Regions from separate parts of the Homo sapiens genome. Here region 2 is linked to region 1. The links are contacts of gene promoters, found by promoter capture Hi-C in blood cells and fetal thymus (Javierre and others, 2016). All regions are on one chromosome and are shown on one strand. The core of a region is centred on a gene start or on the middle of the fragment in contact, and the rest is flanking DNA. Distances in the headings are between cores, read along the strand shown.

Region 1 (3,349 bases), core at 461-2,960:
TTTATGTTTCTAGATTCAGTTAGAAGCAACTTGTTTCTTACAACTTTATTTTTTATTTATTTATTCTTTTGAGACTGAGTCTCGCCCTGTCACCCAGGCTGGAGTGCAATGGCGCAATCTTGGCTCACTGCAACCTCCAACTCCCGAGTTCAAGCGATTCTCCTGCCTCAGCCTCCCGAGTAGCTGGGATTACAGGCACCCGCCATCACACCCAACTAATTTTTGTACTTTTAGTACAGATGGGGTTTCACCATGTCGGTCAGGCTGGTCTTGAACTCCCGACCTCAGGTGATCCACCCACCTCAGCCTTCTAAAGTGTTGGGATTACAGGTGTGAGCCACCGTGCCCAGCCAATATCTGTATTTCAATATAAAGTTTTTTAAAAAAAACCCTTTCCTATGCATAATTTCACTTAATGCTCATAATAACCCTGAGAGATACACAGTAGTGTTAGATTTAGATACAAAAACTGGAAATTAAAGTAGCTAAAATGACAAATGGATGCAGTGGAAAAGCCAGGATCCAAATCCAAGTCTTTCCCCTACAGTACTTCACTCTGCTCCAAGCTCAGATTCACCAAATGTTGTTTGATAGAACACGTGAGCTGGGGCTGAAGGAGCAGGGACAATGCCTTTTTCACTTTTGCCTCTGATAGCCTGTAGACTGGTAGGCACTGAAGTATTTGTTCACTTGTGCAATAAATATTTATTGAGCACCTCGTATGTGCTGGGCACTGAAAACACAACCGTGAACAGAGGCTGTCACGGTTCCTGAACTCATGGAGCTTTCATTCCAGTGGAGGAGACATAATTTCAGTGATAATGCTACGACGGGGCACAATGTGGGAGAAAATAAGAGGGAGGTGGCCAGGCGCGATGGCTCCTCACTCCTGTAATCCCAGCACTTTGGGAGGCCAAGGCGGGTGAATCACGAGGTCAGGAGTTTGAGACCAGCCCGGCCAACATCGTGAAACCCCGTCTCTACTAAATAGACAAAAATTAGCCGGGCGTGGTGGCGTGTGCGTGTAATCCCAGCTACTAGGGAGGCTGAGGCAGGAGCATTGCTTGAACCTGGGAGGCGAAGGTTGCAGTGAGCTGAGATCGGGCCACTGCACTCCAGCCTGGGTGACAGAGCGAGACTCCGTCTCAAAAAAAAAAAAAAAAAGAAAGAAAAAGAAAAGGGGGAGGTAATTTTAGAATGGTCAGAGAAGGTTTTTTTGAAAAGATAACATTAATCAAACGAATAAATGAATGAAAAGCCACTCGCTAGCGGATTCATTATTTGCTATACTTATTTAGAGTTTGTCAGTCACGAGACTGTTACGGCTCTGATGCTGAGTATCTTTTGAATCCTATGTTGATGATGCCCAAAAGGCAAGTGCAGAGATGAAGCATAATGAAGAATCCTTTTCAATTTCTTTTCAGTCCTCTGACCTTGCCTCTGCCGTCACGGTCACACTCCCCCACTGACACTCCCATTCTTCTGTTTCCGGACACTTGCGGCCTGGAAGCGCATGTGCAAGAGAAACCGTCATTCCTGGTGAAGGGCGAGCCCCCGGCAGAACGCATGCGCCTCTGTCCCTTAAGCCCCGCCCCGACCTCAGCGCCCCCTCGCGAGCGCCTGCCGTTTCTCGGGGCGGGACGGGGGGGCGGGGACTGGGCGGAGAGGCGCGTGCTGCTGCGTGCGTGCGCGCGCGCCGCGGGCGGGCCAGTGAAACCGGCGGCCCTGGCACGTGACCTAGGACCGGCTCACCGGGTCGCTTGGTGGCTCCGTCTGTCTGTCCGTCCGCCCGCGGGTGCCATCATGGCGGACGCGGCCAGTCAGGTGCTCCTGGGCTCCGGTCTCACCATCCTGTCCCAGCCGCTCATGTACGTGAAAGTGCTCATCCAGGTATGAGGCGTCGCCGCTCCCTACCCCGCCCGGCGCCCCGTTCGGTCGCTGCTGCTCAGGGCGCCTGAGGATCGGCTCAGCCTTGCGGGCCTTTCATTCTCCCGAGATGCTGCTGCTCCTCCGCTGCCCTTTACCTCCCCGCAGGGACAGCTTCCTCAGTCCCGCGGCCCCGCTTGGGGGCCTCGCCGAGCCCTCGCCTCGCCGCCCAGCGTTGAGGCCCTCTCCTCCCTTAGCCAACCGCCACCCGGCCCTGCCCTGCCCGGCGGATCCTCTGAACTTTGGTTCTTCGTCACTGAGGTGGATCCTGGCCGGTCGCCACCAAAGGCTTCCGAACCCTCCCTCTCGCCCCTCCGAAATTCACATTCACCACTACTCCCCCCAAAATCTCAGACGCAAAACACGAAATACTCAGTTGAAGACAAATGTGAAGTTAGGTGGGAACCAACATTTTATTTTTTATTCCTTTTTTTTTTCTTTTTATGCTACTGTTACTACTGCTTTTCTGTTCCGAGGTTTTCGCACCAGATACTGAGAGAAACACAAGGAGCTCATTCAGAAGTGTTAATGAAGGGGTTGCTCTGTCAGATTTCGGAAGGATGCATTGAGCGCTTTCCAGCAGCGGCCCATGTGGCTCCTGACAATGAAAATCACATTTGTCAGAGCTGGAAATTAGTGAAGCTGAGTTTTAGCGAGTTTAAACATGGGAGTTAGTTTCTAATCTACTGTCAAATAATTATTACATGGTATTTTATATTCACATGCAGGTAGGCCAAGTAAGTGATAGACTTAGTGTTTCCAGTTCCTTTGCTATATCCCTGTAATGGGCAGGTCATTCTTTTTTTTATGCTTTTACTGAGAGTTGACATAATTACCTCATGCACTGTGCCTAGGAATGGAACAGTTTTTAGAACCCCTGTCTCGCCGTCTACTTTTCTGTAAAAAATAGGCAAGACACTAGAGAGGGCCCCATTTCTTATTCTTGAGTTGTTGGGAATCCAAATTATTTCTTGCTGAGTAGACCTGTGTGAATTCAGATTCCATATGTTAAAGGCTATTGCAAATAAATTCTTTGTACTTAGAACAAAGACTGATTAGAATGTACTGTAACATCCAAAACAGAATTGGCACATTTGGGGCTAGATAGCATCGGAGGTGACAGCATGTTGCAGTATATAGTAAGAACCCTTGGGGCCGGGCGCGTTCGCTCACGCCTTCCCAGCACTTTGGGAGGCCGAGGTGAGCGGATCACGAGGTCGATGTTTGAGACCAGTCTGACCAACATGGTGAAACCCCGTCTCTACTAAAAATACAAAATATAGCCAGGTGTGGTGGTGCGTGCACGTAATCCCAGCTAGTCGGGAGGCTGAGGCAGGAGAATCGCTTGAACCCGGGAGGTGAAGGTTGCAGTGAGCCGAGATCGCGCCATTGTACTCCAGCCTGGGCAACAGAGCAAAACTCA
Region 2 (3,349 bases), core at 632-3,131, 320 kb after region 1:
ATATATGTTCAAGGATATTCAATGAGCAATTATTATTATTATTATTATTTTTTGAGACAGGGTTTTGCTCTGTCACCCAGGATGGACTGAAGTGGTGTAATCAGAGCTCACTGAAGCCTTGACCTCCCAGGCTCAAGGATCCTCCCAACTTAGCCTCCCCAGTAGCTAGGACCATAGGCATGCACTAGCATGCCTAGCTTATTTTAAAATTTTTTGTGGAGACGGGGTTTCCCTATGTTGCCCAGGCTGGTTTTGACCTCCTGGGCTCAAGCGAACCTCCCACCTCAGCCTCCCCAGTAGCTGGTACCACAGGCATACATCACCACATGTATGACTAATTTTTAAATTTTTTATAGAGACAGGGTCTCCCTATGTTGCCCAGGCTGGTCTCAAACTCTGGGCTCAAGCAATCCTCCTGCCTCAGCCTCCCAAAGTACTGGGATTACAGGCGTGAGCCAACATGCTTGGCCTAATGAGTAATATATAAATATATATTTCATTTTTTTAAATTTTTTTTTTGAGACGGAGTCTTGCTCTGTCGCCCAGGCTGGAGTGAAGTGGTGCAATCTCGGCTCACTGCAACCTCCGCCTCCCAGGTTCAAACAATTCTCTGCCTCAGCCTCCCAAGTAACTGGGATTACAAGCACCCACCACCTCGCCTGGCTAATTTTTTGTATTTTTAGTAGAGGCAGGGTTTCACCATCTTGGCCAGGCTGATCTTGAACTCTTGACCTCGTGATCCACCCACCTTGGCCTCCCAAAGTGCTGGGATTACAGGCGTGAGCCACCACACCCAGCATGAGTAATATTTTTTTAAAAAATAGTGAGAGGCACTAGTTAAACCAATTATGGTACACCATACGACATCTAATGGCTAAGCATCCATTAAAGAAAAAAAAAAAAAGACACGGAAAGGTATATCATTAAGTGAAAAAAGCAAATTATTTAACAATATTTGTAATTTTTTTTTTTTTTTTTTTTTTGCGATGGAGTCTCGCTTTGTCACCCAGGCTGGAGAGCAGTGGCATGATCTCGGCTCACTGCAACCTCCGCCTCCGGGTTCAAGCGATTCTCCTGCCTCAGCCTCCCATGTAGCTGGGATTGCAGGCGCCTGCCCAACACGCCCGGCTAATTTTTGTATTTTTAGTAGAAACAGGGTGTCACCACGTTGGCTAGGCTTGTCTGGAACTCCTGACCTCAAGTTATCCACCTGCCTCGGCCTCCCAATGTGCTGGGATTACAGGCTCATGTGAGCCACCATGCCCAGCCCAATATTTGTAATTTGATACCACTTTCGTAAGTGCAAAAACAAAATTCCATATAAATAAATTATATTTGCACAAATATGCATTTTCAATAATCTGAAAGGAGTCACATAAAACTCTTCATTACTGGTTACCTCTGGGACAAAGGATTGAAAGGCAGTGAGTAAAACTTTTAATTATTTTTTAACTTTGGCACGGTTTGAAACATTTACAGCATATACTGTTTTACTTCTGTAACTAAAAAAAGGGCAACAAAGACAATTTTTAAAAATCTTTGGCTGGGTATGGTGGCTCACACCTGTAATCCTAGCATTTTGGGAGGCCAAGGCAGACGGATCACTTAAGGTCAGGAGTTCAAGACCATCCTGGCCAACATGGCAAAACCCCATCTCTGCTAAAAATACCAAAAATTAGCCAAGCGTGGTGATGCGTGCCTGTAGTCCCAGCTACTCGGGAGTCTGAGGTAGGAGAATCTCTTGAAGTCGGTGGGTGGATGTTGCAGTGAGCCAAGATTGTGCCACTGCACTCCAGCCTGGGTGACAGAGCAAGACTCCACCTCCAAAAAAAAAAAAAAAATTATATATATATATATATTTTCCTTGGCCAGGTGTGGCAGCTCACACCTGTAATCCCAGCACTTTGGGAGGCTGAGGTGGGCAGATCACTTGAGGTCAGGAGTTCGAGACCAGCTTGGCCAAAATGGTGAAACCCCGTCTCTACTACAAATACAAAAATTAGCCAGACATGATGGCATGTGCCTGTAGTCCCAGCTACTCAGGAGGCTGAGGCAGGAGAATCGCTTGAACCTGGGAAGTGGAGGTTGCAGTGAACCAAGATTGTACCACTGCACTTCAGCCTGGGCAACAGAGTGAGACTCTGTCTCAAAAAAAAAAAAAAAAAAAAAAAAAAAAAAAAAAAATTCCCAAACTGCTGTCCAGTTGATCATGCAAAAAGCAGGCTATGCTCTGAGAAAGGCTAAATCAAATAGCCTCACAGGAGCCAGGTGATGGCACAGTGACCATGGTGCACTCTTCCCTGGCATGGCACCACTTCGAGGAAGAGGCATCTATTTGGGTAATGGGTCCAGTCCCACACTCCAGAGACTTAGCATGAGGCTCCCTTTGTACGGTGGTGAGAGTAAGAGTAGTTCAAGGAATCTGCTGGAGATATTTTTTTTAAAAGGAAAAGAAAAGGGCAAGAGTCATGTGCCACTTCTGCTGTGGTGCAGATGTCCTAAGTCAGCCCTAGGCTCTGAGAGGCAACTAGCCAAATTCTAACACTTTAAAGGGTGACATGAAAATGACTCCTTCTTGGCTACACTGACATGTATGTTTCTGCTTCAGGGTAAGCCCTTCTTGCGTTTGGTAGACCACCTGTTCAAAAAAACTGTGAATGTGATATTCAAATTCAGCTAAACCACAGGGGAACAGATAACATAGGCAAAATTTTACTACTTTATATATAGGAGTTGTATTTGGTCCTTAAAATTACTTAGGTCTGTTTCAGAATTAAAAACACAGAAATGAAGAAAACACGGCCAATTTCCTTTATAATCCTGGAGAGTAAGGCTTTTTCTAACCATGCCTCAAAATCCAGAAGCCGTAAAAGAAACTATTGATTAATTTAATTATATAAAAGTAGCCAGGCGTGATGGCTCACACCTGTAATCCCAGCACTTTGGGAGGCCGAGGTGGGTGGATCACTTGAGGTCAGGAGTGCGAGACCACCCTGGCCAACATGGTAAAACCCCATCTCTACTAAAAACACAAAAATTAGCCGGGTGTGGTGGCAGGCACCTGTAAACCCAGCTACTTGGGAGGCTGAGGCAGGAGAACTGCTTGAACCCGGGAGGTATAGGTTGCAGTGAGCCGAGATCATGCCACTGCATCCAGCCTGGGCGATAGAGAGAGACTCTGTCTCAAAAAAAAAAAAAAGTTATATACAAATAAAAAATTTATGTGTGTCAAAAAATACCATAGGCAAAATCAGAAGACAAATGAGGAACTTTCTGGTGGGCAGATCAGGTTGCCCACATCTGAGCCCACTGATGTGTAAGAGAGGGACAACCATATGAGGCAATAGGA

The links. Contacts are between HindIII fragments. The CHiCAGO score rates a contact against its expected background, and 5 or more counts as called.
Region 2: a fragment that was not itself captured here is called in contact with the fragment with the promoter of MTCH2 in region 1 in 1 of 17 cell types (M2 macrophages); the score reaches 5.4 in M2 macrophages.

The regions. Positions count from the first base shown.
Region 1 is chr11:47,640,920-47,644,268 of GRCh38, reverse strand. It overlaps MTCH2 (mitochondrial carrier 2), which reads left to right and starts at 1,710. Exons shown (of 13, transcript NM_014342.4): 1 at 1,710-1,890. The coding sequence starts at 1,804. RefSeq lists a silencer at 1,520-1,789. The HindIII fragment of the contact is 6,217 bases long and covers 1-3,349 here.
Region 2 is chr11:47,317,625-47,320,973 of GRCh38, reverse strand. The region is part of intron 30 of MADD (MAP kinase activating death domain); the gene reads right to left. Among named protein-coding and RNA genes, the nearest start is that of MYBPC3, 33 kb to the left of the region's middle. The HindIII fragment of the contact is 3,885 bases long and covers 1-3,349 here.